Linked DNA regions of Homo sapiens: all the other regions are linked to region 1. The links are contacts of gene promoters, found by promoter capture Hi-C in blood cells and fetal thymus (Javierre and others, 2016). All regions are on one chromosome and are shown on one strand. The core of a region is centred on a gene start or on the middle of the fragment in contact, and the rest is flanking DNA. Distances in the headings are between cores, read along the strand shown. Region 1 holds the start of TLNRD1 (talin rod domain containing 1). Region 2 holds the start of ST20-MTHFS (ST20-MTHFS readthrough). Region 3 has its middle 9.8 kb from the start of MEX3B.

What was found. Contacts are between HindIII fragments. The CHiCAGO score rates a contact against its expected background, and 5 or more counts as called.
Region 2: the fragment with the promoter of ST20-MTHFS here is called in contact with the fragment with the promoter of TLNRD1 in region 1 in 1 of 17 cell types (total CD4 T cells); the score reaches 7.1 in total CD4 T cells.
Region 3: a contact is called between a fragment that was not itself captured here and the fragment with the promoter of TLNRD1 in region 1, in 1 of 17 cell types (fetal thymus). The highest score is 6.0, in fetal thymus.

The regions. Positions count from the first base shown.
Region 1 is chr15:80,998,191-81,002,729 of GRCh38, forward strand. It overlaps TLNRD1 (talin rod domain containing 1), which reads left to right and starts at 2,733. Exons shown (of 1, transcript NM_022566.3): 1 at 2,733-4,539. The coding sequence starts at 4,082. It overlaps LOC128071545, which reads left to right and starts at 3,952. Exons shown (of 1, transcript NM_001414893.1): 1 at 3,952-4,089. The coding sequence starts at 3,952. The coding sequence ends at 4,089. RefSeq lists silencers at 2,361-3,050, 3,091-3,550, 3,901-4,030 and an enhancer at 4,524-4,539. The HindIII fragment of the contact is 6,287 bases long and covers 118-4,539 here.
Region 2 is chr15:79,920,037-79,924,575 of GRCh38, forward strand. ST20-MTHFS (ST20-MTHFS readthrough) reads right to left here and starts at 3,056. Exons shown (of 4, transcript NM_001199760.2): 1 at 3,003-3,056. It overlaps ST20 (suppressor of tumorigenicity 20), which reads right to left and starts at 3,716. Exons shown (of 3, transcript NR_037653.2): 1 at 3,416-3,716. ST20-AS1 (ST20 antisense RNA 1) reads left to right here and starts at 2,735. Exons shown (of 1, transcript NR_028330.1): 1 at 2,735-4,539. RefSeq lists silencers at 2,874-2,983, 3,004-3,073, 3,084-3,133, 3,754-3,903 and enhancers at 3,434-3,613, 4,044-4,093, 4,295-4,539. The HindIII fragment of the contact is 4,343 bases long and covers 2,572-4,539 here.
Region 3 is chr15:82,053,549-82,058,087 of GRCh38, forward strand. No RefSeq gene overlaps it. Among named protein-coding and RNA genes, the nearest start is that of MEX3B, 9.8 kb to the left of the region's middle. RefSeq lists an enhancer at 4,143-4,539. The HindIII fragment of the contact is 7,919 bases long and covers 1-4,539 here.

The DNA.
Region 1 (4,539 bases), core at 1,483-3,982:
ATGCAACAGCAACAGACAACCCTCAAATCTCTGTGACTTAACACACCAATAATTTACTTTGTGTTCACATTGCATGTCCACTACAGATCAAGAGGGTCTGCTCCACATGGTCACCTAAGCTTACAGAGGCTCCACCAACTAGAATGCAGTCTCCGTGGTAGTTATAGGAGGGCAAGAGAGTGGAGAATTACAGATTGGCTTTTCATTGTCTCAGCCTAGAAGTAACCTGCATAGCTTCCCCTTACATTTCATTGGTCAGACAGAACCACATGGCCCTGCCTACCTACAAATATTGTATCTGTGAAGCCTGATTATCTCTGCTATAGGTTTTTTACTCTGTGCTCTCACTGTGCCAATAGTGAAATTGTGGCTGTTTCTTGTGAATCTACTCCTATCCCTGGACTCTAAAGAGTGGGGGCCTCATATTACAAATTATGTAACTTTGGTGCCTAGCACAAGACTGGTGCCCAGTGATTGTGGAGTGATTGAACAATCGGACAAAGTAAAGGTGAACCTAAAGAAAGGTGGAGGCAGTGCCTGGGAGGATCAGTTTAGGAGCTTCCCTATCTGAAAAATGAAGCAGGGAAGGCCGAGAAAACAATGCTATCAGTTTTAAAAATGAAACCAAACCTCACTGAATAGAGTGGACAGTCTGTGTGTAACACAACTCATTGTCGGGGTGGGTTTCCATCAACAACAAAACAGACTGCATATGTAGAAGAAAGGGAAAATGGGACCCCCAGGGGCACTACGTGGCTTTGGAAAAAAAATCTGATCTTAGAGCAGCCTCAAGAATAAACTAGGCACAGAACAGTCTGACTTCCCTCTCATAAGTTTTATTTATTTATTTATTTATTTTTTTTTGAGACGGAGTCTCCCTCTGTCGCCCAGGCTGCAGTGCAGTGGCGCGATCTCCGCTCACTGCAAGCTCCGCCTCCCGGGTTCATGCCATTCTCCTGCCTCAGCCTCCCGAGTAGCTGGGACTACAGGCGCCCGCCACCATGCCCGGCTAATTTTTTGCATTTTTAGTAGAGACGGGGTTTCACTGTGTTAGCCAGGATGGTCTTGATCTCCTGACCTCGTGATGCGCCTGCCTTGGCCTCCCAAAGTGCTGGGATTACAGGTGTGAGCCATCGCTTTCGGCCCCCTCTCATAAGTTTTTGGAGCTTAAGAAGGACTAAGGTGCAATCCCTGGGTCACCATGGAAAAACCTTGACTTATCCAGCTGTTTTTTTTTTCTCTTGTAGAAGAAAAAAAGGAATTAACCCTACATAATTACTTCCTATTTCAAGTCAGTTTTATTGACCTCGGTTTGCAAACTAAGTGGGCTCATCCGGATTCTAAAGATATTTAAGGATACTTTCAGTTATAAGTAGGATGACTATCCATCCAGGTTTGAACCTGCTGTTCATGGTTAATTTATTAATAGCATGTCTCACAGTTCATTCTCAGAAATGCTTGGATATGGCCGATAAATTGAAACGTCATCCTAGTTAAAAGTAACGTTTTTAACTGGCTGGAGAAAGGTGACTTGGGGTTCTAGGAAGGGACAGAGGAACAAACATTCTGTTGGCTCAGCACGCCCAGCCTGTGTTGGGCTGGGCACCTTAGAGGACCTGTTTCAGGACTGCGTGACTGGCGTTTTGCTGGGAGTAGCCCAGGTGTTTTAACCACTTCCTGAAGAACAAGGTTCGGTAAAAAGAGGCTGGGGCGTAGGCGTGGGTTCCTGTCCCTGCCATATGCTGTCTTCCTGATCTTCGGAAGTCACTTCAAGCACCTGATCATCAGTTTCCTTATCTGTAAAACTGGAGTAGTAATGTTTCCCTCCAAACGCCGTCGTATTTAATTCATTTAACAGCAGCCACTATTATTCCATTATACAGACGAATAAATAGACGTTATGAGAGGGCAAAGTGCGCTGATCAGGGCTCATAATAATTCTAACAGCTACTGTTTAGGAACCAAGTACTCAAGCAGCCTGTGCACAATCTCTAATTTCTAGAAGAGAAGACGGATACTTGGAAAGAGAACTTGAACAATGTCATGGAACTCATAAATGGCTTGAGAAAGGCTGATCCTAGGAAATCTGCTTCAGAACCCGCGCTCTCACTGCATAAGGCGTATTTCAAGGGAGGAACGGGCAGGCATCTAGCACCACTCTTCGGACTCCCCATCCAGTGCTCTTTTCCTCTTTTCGTTACACTGCACTGCTGGTCGGAAACCCATCGTGGAAGTGGATCAAACACAACAAAGGGCAGGGGGCGTTGGAAAACCGGGCGAAGTCGCGCAGACCGAGACGACCCACCGGCCCCAGCAAATCACCAGGGGCCGAAATCCAGTGTCCTCCTCCCTTCAGCCCAGAAGCCAGGTCACCTTTTAGACTTGCTCTCTTGGCGGGGAGGAAGCGTGGAGCCCCCTGGTCCGGCTAAGAGCTTACGTAAGGCCCGCGGGCGGCTGCGCCCCGGTCTCCCATGGGTGTGCGCAGAGCCCCCGGGCCGGAGCAGGCCTTCCCCTGTCCGCTCCCCCAGTCTCTCGGCCCAGGACCACGGGGGAGTTCAGGACCACCGGCCCCACGCCGGCAGCGTCCGCGTTGGGCGGCGGCGTCCCCCGCAGCCACCCAGCTTCCCGGGGGAGGAGCAGCGCATCGCGCAAGCATCCGGGAGCGGCGGAGGGGGCGGGAGGAAGGGCGAGAGGAGGAAGCGGGATTTAAACGAAAGGCGGTGACGCCACACAAAAGATTTCTATAGGCTCCAGGGAGGTTACGGCCGAGGCGGCGGCGGCGGCGAGCCCGGGGGCGAGGCGCGGACGGGAACAGGAAAAGCCTCCGGCAGCCCCTGCGGGCGGCGGCGCAGCCACGGCCGCGCTCCGAGGTGAAGCCGCGCGCGGAGAGGAAGCGGGTGTTTTCCCCTCTGCCTTTCGGCCCCCGCCCTTCCTTTCAGTTTCTGCCCGCTCGCTCGGAAGTTGGCGGTTGACAAAAATGGCAGGAGCCGGGGCCCGGGCCGGTTGCCGCAGCGCCGCGGGGACCTTCTGAGTTGGCCCGGTGGCAGGGAGACTCGTGCAGGGGCGTCCGATGCGCGGGGCCCGGGGCCTCGGGAGAGCTCAGCTGCTGCGGGCCCCAGACGAGGCGACAGGGATGGACTTGCGTAGACAGCCAGCGCCGGGCCGCCGGGCGCGCGGTCTGGGAGGGCGTGCCGCCGCGGCGCCGGGCCGCGCTCTGTGAACCGGCGAGGCGGGAAGGGGCCGCCGTGGTGCTCGGCACGCCCGGGCGTGTGGCGGGCGGGCGAGAGCTTGAGCGCGATCCGGGCGGCCGCTGTGCGCAATCAGTGCAGGCTCCCGCCCGACTCTGACTCGGCGCGGCCGCGACAGTGCCGGCCACACCCTCTGCCCCGCTGCCGCCGGCGCCGCTTCCCAAGAGCTGGAGGCAGGAGATGCGCCCGGGGCGGCCGCGCGTCCCAGAGAGCCAGCCCCGGCCGCCGTCGCGGGGAAGTGCCGCCTGGTGGGGTCACGGCGCCTGAAGCCCACGTGCGCCGCCGAGCCCGAGGTGGCCTCGAGCGCGGCGGCTGACAGCACAGCCCGCCTGAGCTGCCTCCCGCGCTCCTCCCCGAGGAAAGGATTTTGATTTCAAAGAAAGGAAGGAAGGAAGGACAACTCCCAGCTTCCCCGTCCCGCCCTCCCCGCTCCGAGGGCCGCGCCAGGCCATGCCCAAGAAGGCGGCGGCGGCGGCGAACCAGCAGAAGGGACTTTCCTGGCAGCCCGGCGACGAGGAGCGCGGACAGTGAGTTTGCTCTGCCCCGGTTCATGGTTCCTGCAAGCCCTCTAGGAGGCCGAAAGCTGCAGCCCCTCCCCTTGCCCCGAAGAGCCTTCCGCGTTCTCTCGCCCTCGGGCCCACCCCGCGCCGCCCGGGCTCCCGCCGCCGCAGCCCAGTGCCCTCTGCCCGCGGCGGTGGATGGCATGATGGTGCGGGGAAGGCACCGCGGCCTTGGCCAGCTGAGTCGCGACGGCCGCCGGGGCGGCGGCAGTGGCCGCGGCAGCGGCGGTGGTAGCGGGCTCCCCAGCGGCATGCCAGTGCCCCCCGGGCGCGATGGCTAGCGGCAGCGCCGGGAAGCCCACTGGCGAGGCGGCTTCTCCGGCTCCTGCGAGCGCCATCGGCGGGGCCAGCTCGCAGCCGCGGAAGAGGCTGGTATCCGTCTGCGACCACTGCAAGGGCAAGATGCAGCTGGTGGCTGACCTGCTGCTGCTGTCGAGCGAGGCGCGGCCCGTGCTCTTCGAGGGCCCCGCCTCCTCTGGTGCCGGCGCCGAGTCCTTCGAGCAGTGCCGGGACACCATCATCGCGCGCACCAAGGGGCTCTCCATCCTCACCCACGACGTGCAGAGCCAGCTCAACATGGGCCGCTTCGGGGAGGCGGGGGACAGCCTGGTGGAGCTGGGCGACCTGGTGGTGTCGCTGACCGAGTGCTCGGCCCACGCGGCCTATCTGGCCGCTGTGGCCACGCCGGGCGCCCAGCCCGCGCAGCCGGGCCTGGTGGACCGCTACCGCGT
Region 2 (4,539 bases), core at 1,806-4,305, 1.1 Mb before region 1:
CTGAGAGTCCAGTTTATTTGTCATAACTGGTGGGTCTCGATTCCTTACCCTGAGGCCGCTACAACAAGGCAGTGGGGCGCCTTCCTCATGAGAGAGGACCAGAGACCCACCCCCCCACCCCCGGAGGAGAATGGCTCCCTGTACAGGCCACCGCCATTGTTACAAGTAAAATGTTTATTTAGAAACAGAATGCTTGCTCCTAGGTACTGCAAGGAAAAACCAGCATTTAGACAAAAAGTTTTTTCAGCAAGGCAATTTTACTTTCTGCAGAAAGGGTGCTCCTCACAGATGAAACAATGGTGACAGCACACCCGAACAAAGGAGGGAAGCAGTTTTTATCCCTTATGCAGCTTGTGTCCTGTCTCCATTGGCTGGAGCTGGACCTCACAATTTAAATTAAACCCGACTGGCTAATAACTTAAAACTTTCCTATATAGGGAAAGGCAATAGAGAACAAAGGAAAAGAAGAAGTTGCTTGCAAAAAGACTTAGAAAAGTAATAATATTTCCAAATAAGGAAGGGGCATAGGCTGCAAGCTGGAACGTGCCTGTGAGCATGTCCAGCACAAATATCTTGGTTAAAGTACAAGGACATAGAATATACTTATTCCCTTATATCTAACAGCTACATAGGATAGGGCTTAATGAAGAGTCATTAGCACAGAGCAGAGGAGGCTTGAAGGAAGTTAGTCTTTAAAAGAAACTATTATTTCTAACACTTATGATTTATTCTTTAACAAGAAAGGAAATTTCGAAAAGGAAACTTTTTACTTTCTACAGGCTGATGAGTGCAGCTAATCCTCATTATTATAAGCATCACTATTATCATCACTTGCAAGAGCCATGTGACAATATTTAGATGATTCTGGGTTCTTTTAAAGTGCATACATACTCAGGATTCCTTTGGGAGGATGCAATTTCATTTATATGAAAAACTGTCACTACCACAGTCAGCTCTAATAATATTTGATATCACCTGGTAATAAAGGTTTGTCGGCTGGGTGCGGTGGCTCACGCAGCACTTTGGGAGGCCAAGGCGGGCAGATCACGAGGTCTGGAGTTCGAGACCAGCCTGGCCAGTATGGTGAAACTCCATCTCTACTAAAAACACAAAAATTAGCTGGGCATGGGGGTGGGCACCTGCAGTCCCAGCTACTTGGGAGGCTGGGGCAGAAGAATTGCTTGAACCTGGGAGGCGGAGGTTGCAGTGAGCTGAGATCATGCCACTGCACTCCAGCCAGGGCAACAGAGCGAGACTCCGTCTCAAAAAAAAAAAAAAATAGTAAATAAAAAATAAAGGTTTGTCACCATATACTCAAGAGTACTTCTGTTATTCAAATCTCCTAACTGGGAGTTACAAATATCTCTGACTCTGCTCTTGTAGCTGTCAGAGCATAAAATGCCCTTCCCACTCTTTCCTCACTTCCAGACTCCAAAGCCTCCTCCTCAAAGTTTGGCCCCTCTACTTTGGACTACTGTTTTCTTCCCAGTTACTGCGCACTGACAGTACTTTTGTTCTCTCTTTCGGCAATTCACCATACACTTTCTAGTTTATTTATCTGCATAAAACTTAGTTCTCAACAAGACTATAACTGCCTTATGAACAGGAATCAACAGTTGAGAATCTTCAGAGTCTCCTATAACATCATGTAAGAGCTCACTAAATGTTTGATTTAAATAACTAGGCTTAAGAGTAATAGGCTGGGCATGGTGGCTCATGCCTGTAATCCCAGCTCTTTGGAAGGCCGAGGCGGGAGGATCACGAGGTCAGATCGAGGCCATCCTGGCTAACACGGTGAAACCCGTCTCTTCTAAAAATACGAAAACAAAAAATTAGCAGGGAGTGGTGGCCAGTGCCTGTAGTCCCAACTACTCGGGAGGCTGAGGCAGGAGAACGGTGTGAACCCAGGAGGCGGAGCTTGCAGTAAGCCAAGATCTCAACAGTGCTAAATGCATACATGGATTATCTTACTAAATTTTCATAACTCTATAGAGGTAAGTGCTATCATTATTTTCTCCATCATAGAGGAAGAAAGTGAAGCTCAGAATAACTTGCTCAAGGTCATACAGGCCTGGGCAAACCCAGGGCCTGAATCCAGCAAAGCTCTTAACTACCTCAGAACACTGCACAGTTCGAGCCCTGCAATACTACAGTCTATGAATGATTTCGATTTCACTAAGTTAGAAATTTGAATTTCAACAGAGACATTTTAGCTAAAAGGTAAAATTTTAAAGAGGATGAATTAAGAGAATTTCCCACAGACATCTTTATAATAAAATGAGGAGAAAAGCCTCCCATTTCCTATTTATGAAAGTGATATTAAGGTGTGTGTCACAATTTCATCAAGAAGTGGCTTATGACAATACAGCTTTGGTTTAGGTATTAAAATAGGACTCTTTTCTGCCCATAGGAGGACATGGAAATGAAGGATAGATGTGATAAATGTCAATTCAGAGCTCTGCAAAATGCCAGACTCAATTCTTGTTTTAAAATATCAGAGCCAGGGCTCTTGTTTCACCCTTGATTCTTCACACAAAACACCACCATCCTCTGACCTCTTCACACAGAGCAAGCTTTACCCCACTACCTAAAGGGGAGTGCTGATCCACATGGTCTCCCCATCCACGCTAGAAATTGATCCCAAACACCAACCGCTGCATAGACGTCGGCGACTTTGGTCTGCACCCCCCGAACTTGGTGATACCTCATCAAGCCAAACCCCTCCCCAACATCCAAAATGCCCAGACCAGCATCCGAAAGCTGGTCTCCTATACAAAGCAGAATCCCTGCCTACAAAGCAGTTTCCCACCTCCGACTCCTCCCCACGGCGAACAGCCCTTCTGGATCCAACCAACCCACCAACCCCAATAGGGCCCAGCACCCAGAGGGTCCACAATCCAGAGAAGGAGCTACAAGCCCTGTACTTGCAAGCCTCGAACCCCCAACTCCAACTGACCTCCCCTCTGCCAGAGCAAGACCACGAGTACCCGCCGAGAGCGGACCTGGCTGGCTACACAAAGCCAGGCGCCCGACCAGAGGGATCCTCCGGGACGTCCTCCGCCACCGGGGCGTCCCCGCCCAGCCCCGCCCGGCGCCCGGCGCTCACCAGCTCTCCTCCCCCTCCTCCTAGCCTGACAGACGCTCCAGGTCGTCTAGCAAGCCGCCCTCCCCCGCCGCCAGCAAGAAGGTGGCGTCTCGCAGCTCCTCGTTATTCGTCCGCCTCGGGTCCATCCGGCCCCGCCGCCCGACTTTGCGCTGAGACCCAAGGGGAAGCCCCGAGGGGACCCCGCGCCGTAGGAGGGAGTGGAGGAGCCGGCGAACCGCGATGGAGCCGGGGCCCAGCACAGCGCGAGCGGCTCCTCGGCTGTTCGTGCTGCTTCCCCAGCTTCTTCACCGGCACCTGCAGCTTCCGCACCTCCTGGTCCGCGTTCACGTTAGAGTTAACGTCCTCCATCCCGGCCCCGCTGCCTCCGCCGCCCGCGGCCCTCTCGCTCTCGCAGCAACAAGGGAAGAGCCGGAGGAAAGAGGCGTCCACGCCGCTCACTCCAGCCGAGGCCCCCGCATATAGCAGGGCCAGGCCCCGTCGCCAGGGTTCCCCCAGCGCGGGTCCCGAAGCACCGCTGGCCACAGATGAACCGCCTCCTCAGCGCAGGTCCGGGATTCGGGGAGGCAGCGCCAATATCCGGTCTCTGCAGCCATCTTCCCTCCGTCCCTCCGCCCACCGAGGGTCGGCCCTGTAGGTGACCTCAGAGCGTCGGGGATGGGCGTGGCCCCGTCGGGCGCTAAGAAGACCTAGCGCAGAGAGGACCGCCGAGCTCCCGACGGGGCGGGGCCAGGTGTGTGAGGGGCGGGGATTGGACCCGGAGGGGCGTGTCTGGACTGCCGGCGGAAGTGGAACGCGGCCTGACCTGCGACGGAAAGCCACTGCAAGCCCGGAGGCGAACAGAAGGCATTCCGCGAGCCGGGCTGAGTTGGTGAACACGGTCCTCGTTCACCCCGCCTATTGGTCTGGGCGTGTGGGGTATTCTCCACCCACTTATACGGCGTGTGGGACCGACGGGCCCGTCCTGCCCGGCTCCGGTCCGGATCTCGAGTAGGCGCTCAATGGGATTCGGGGAGACGTAGTTTACTTTGTTCAGCAAATATTTAACCGATGCCTATTTTAATGGGAGATTGTTTCCGCTGGCGGGAGCCTCAGAGACCGCCTGTGTCCTTTAAGAAACCCGAATTTCAGACAGTTAAGAGAGGTCTAAGGTCAAAATAATAATCATAATTTCTTCTTACTGGCCAGATACTATGCTAAGCCCTTTTTAATTTTATTATTATTATATTTTGTCACCGAGGCTGGAGTGCAATGGCCCGATCTTGGCTCTGCAACCTCCGCCTCCCGGTTTAAAGCGATTCTCCTGCCTCAGCCTCCCGAGTAACTGGGATTACAGGCGGGCGCCACCACGCCTCGCTGATTTTTGTATTTTAGTAGAGACGGGGTTTCGCCATTTTGGCCAGGCTGGTCTCGACCCTGACCTCAGGGTGATCCGC
Region 3 (4,539 bases), core at 532-3,031, 1.1 Mb after region 1:
AACAGTGCTGCTGAAATTTTAGCTAATAATAGAATCATTTTTATGTTCGTAAACTATATCTTATACAACTTTATTAAAATTATCCAGTTATCATTGTACTAAAATGTGTATGCAGCCATATAAAGAGTCACTGACCTTGAAAACCAAAGAAATAGCAGTTAAAGAATGCTTTCGGGTAAGCACAATTATTAGTAAACCTAGCCAAAGAGTTTAAAATATGAACCATGGTAAGTTCCACATCTCAGAAAAAAAGAAAGAAAATAGTCTGTAACCAGAAAACTTTAAGAAGCATTATAAATAGAAAGTATATAACGAAACACAGGGAAACATATGAAATCATTAAACAACCAAATAAATAAAACAAATACTAAGAAGTCAGTAATAATAGATATGAGGAGAAAATGCTCCGACTTGAAGGAGATTGATTCTCAGGTTGGATCTGCCCCACTTTGCAGAGGTTATGATCGTGGTCCCTGCAGCTAGACTGCCTGTGTTTCACTGTTCCTGGACCTGCCTTGTTTTTGTGACCTTGAGCAAGTGTCTCTTCTTTCTGTGCTCAGTTTCCTCATCTGTAAAAGAAGGGTGCTTATGGTACCTCCCTCGTTGCCGATACAGGAGACATTTGCAGATTCTAGTGGTGATGCTCACATAATTGATCAACTTTGAAAAAGAAGAAAAATGGCCAGGCACAGTGGCTCATGTTTGTAATTCTAGCACTCTGGGAGGCTGAGGTGGGTTTGAGCCCAGGAGTTCGAGACCAGCCTAGGCAACAAAGCAAGACCACTGTCTTTACAAAAAAAAAAAAAAAAAATTAGCTGGTCATGGTGGCGCACCCCTGTAATCACAGCTACTCAGGAGGCTGAGGTGGGAAGATGGCTTGAGCCCAAGAGGTTGAGGCTGTGGTGAGCTGTGATCACGCTGCTGCACTCCAGCCTGGGCAACAGAGCAAGACCTTGTTCCCTTCCCCAACCCACCCAAAATAAAAGGGAAAAACAAGAAAACTAAGCAGCCCTTGCGCTCTGCTGTATTAACTGTTATGCACCTGCAAGAATTAAAACGGTATATACTGGCATCAAAAGTTAACTAGATCATTAAAATTGACTTACAGGTTTAGAAAGAAACCCAAATTGAAAAAAAGTATTAACTATGTGACAAAGGTAGAAATGTAAATGAATGATGAGGGGAAAGATTATTCCAAAAATGATGCCGAGACAACTGGCTTTTTAGAAACATTATATTAGATTGATTTTTTTTTTTCTTAACCTCACAACAACACCGCAATAAATTCCAGGTGGGTTAAGGAATTAAGTTTCAAAAATGAAATCATAGAGAAGAATCAAATGGAATGTATGTGACTGCTTCTGTAATTGTGGAGTAGGGGAAGGGCTTTTTGAATATGGTCCTAATAGAGGAAATCATTTTGTGAAATACCTATATAAGGCCAGGCATGGTGGCTCACGTCTGTAATCCCAGCACTTTGGGAGGCCAAGGCGGGTGGATCATGAGGTCAAGAGATCGAGACCATCCTGGCCAACATGGTGAAACCCCATCTCTACTACAGATACAAAAATTAGCTGGGCGTGGTGGCACGTGTCTGTAGTCCCAGCTACTCGGGAGGCTGAGGCAGGAGAATCGCTTGAACCCGGGAGGCAGAGGTTGCAGTGAGCCAAGATAGCGCCACTGCACTCCAGCAACAGAATGAGAATCTGAAAAAACAAAACAACAACAAAAAAACACCTGGGAAACCACTGGTATCAATACACATAAACTTGGTGTGTATGTTTTAAAAGGAAATCAACTTGAACTAAAATAGTAAATGAATAATATTATAGTTAGTTCTCAGATTGAATAAGAAATATACATAATGGCCGAGTATGGTGGCTCACACTCCTAATCCCAGCACTTTGGGAGGCCGAGGCAGAAGGATCACTTGAGCCCAGGAGTTCGAGACCAGCCTGGGCGACATAGTGAGAGCTCATCTCTACAAATAAATGCAAAAATTAGCCAGGCATGGTGGTGCACATCTGTAGTCCCAGCTACTCAGGAGGCTGAAGTGGGAGAATTGCTTGAGCACAGGAGTTCGAGGCTACAGTGAGCTAGGATCACACCACTGCACTCTAGCCTGGGCAACAGAACAAGACTTTGTTGATAGATGATAGATAGATAGATAGATAGATAGATAGATAGATAGATAGATATAATGCAAGTATTTATGAGTGAGTGAATATGTCTTCATGCATGAAGTGAAAGGAGCAGGAAACAATTGTTAGTTTATAATATGCATGGAGCACTTATATTCTAGGAGTATGTTAGTTGCTCTCTTTTAATAATGTCAATAATCCAACTAAATAGGTACTATTGTTGTCTCTATTTTTGCCCTAAGGAAACAGTTTAGCTGGTAAGTGGCAGGCAGATCCATGCTGTCCAAAGTCAGGGTCCTCCCTCACTTTTCATCATCAAGGTACACTAACAGGTGAACTATAGAATTATATATGTACACACACGTGCACACACATGCCCACACATATAAATGCACAAATATACATATATATGTGTGTGTGTTCCTATTTGCCCACGTGGAATACATCTAAATATTCAAAAGTTATAAACCAAGCTATCAGCTGCTGAATAGGACTATTGCAGGAGGTTTGAACCTCTTACCCTGACAAATAGACCTTCATCATGACCTGAAAGGCCAGGTTAGAAGCTACAACTTCCAGCCTCCTGAGGTTCTGCCCTGAACCCTGGCCACACAGAGAGAGGCGGGCCTGGGTCAAGAGCCATGATTCACACCTCCCTTCATTCCCCCTACTGAACTGCAGGCTCCATCCCACAATGGGAGAGGGTCTTAGGCACATGTGTGCAGACACCACAGTTCCATCCATGGCTCATCCCCTACAAATAGTCACTCCTTGGACACCCCTTGGGCCTAGGGCATGCACACTTGTGGTGGAGACCTGCGTGAACTGTCGGGGAGAAGTCCCCACAGATGCGGAGGAAGGGGAAGGGGAGCATAGGCTTAAAGTCCCACCGGGACTTCATACTCTAGGAAGGGGCACAGCCTGAGGACAGCGACAGTGAGATCCTACAAAGCATGGGCCCAGAGCAGGGGCCTACAAATGACTTTTAACTATTTGAGTTAGAAAATAACGTAAAATAACTATTGAGACAAGGACTATTATCTCCATCTTATGTATGAGAAAAAGATCACAGGCAAACCTATATACTGTTGGGCAGGATGATTGTAAAAAAAAAAAAAAATCCTTCCACCTGGAACATTTCTTTTTTTCCGTTTTCCTTTCTCCCTTCTGTTCCTTCCTCCCTTCCTTTTCTCCATTTCTTCCTTCTTTCCACAGATATTTACAGCATGAGCTATGTGCCAGGTACTGTGTGGGCACTGGAGTTCAGGGTAATTAAGACAGAAAAGCTCTCAGGGAGTTTAGAATCCAGTGAGGAGACTAGCATTGATCACACACAAATAAATGTATAATTACAAACCAGGGCCAATGTGCTGACAGATAATCATGTTTGATTTGTTGGTTGCCTTTGATTGAAGACTCCCTGCTGAGACAGGGAGGAATGTAAATCTGTTTTTCTCCTGAAGCCGGGAGCCTTGCATATTTTCACAAACCTCCAAAATGGTTGCATTTCATACAGCTAACTGGAATTGGGTATGCTTCCTACAAGCATAGAAGCTAATTTTATTCAAACAACTCTACCACTTTATTGCTTCTGTAGAGCTTCCCTAGAAACTTCAGAGGCACGAATTCCTGCCGTGATACAAAGCCAATTGTCCAATTGTAGAAGCTGGGGGGTTTACCAGAAGACTCTGATGCCAAATGCTTATGGAAATGCAGGAGGTGGAGTGGGGGAGGATCTCCAAGCACTTACAGGAGACTCATTTTCCCCTCAGCATCCCTGCACCACAAAATAGAAGAGGCAGGGATATGATGAATGGCACTTGGTATTCCATTACTTTTCTTCCAGTTACCCTACACTAGAAGATGTCTAGTAAAACAATGCTCAAGGTGTGGGGGATGGGCAGCAGTCACTTCAGAATGAGGGCAAAAACCCAGCCGGATACTTCGGTCAGCAAAAAGCAGTGGGTTGGCACCAGCTCCTTTCAGCTGTGGCCAGTTTAATGAAGTTTGTACGCAGCTATTAGTGCTCCCCACGTGGGTTTAGGCAGGGAAGACCTAGAGGCATTTTATTTCAAAATAGGTTTGTATTGAGAATCCTAGAAGGAAAATTCACCTGTGCCCTTAACACTGGCAGTGTGCATTTTTGATTGCCTGTTGATCTTACATCTTTTCACTAATGCTTTTCCTTGTTTTCGGTAAGGAAGCAACTCCCACACAACTTTCCTTTGGAAAAGAACAATTCTACCTTTACCAGTTGGGCAAACATTCCCCAAGCGGCAAAAACAGCTACTTTCTCCCACCTCTTCTCCCCACTGCAGAGAATATCCAGCAGAGGAAACCCTTAATCGTTCATTTATATTTTAGCACACACACGTGCATGCGCACACACACGCTTTTC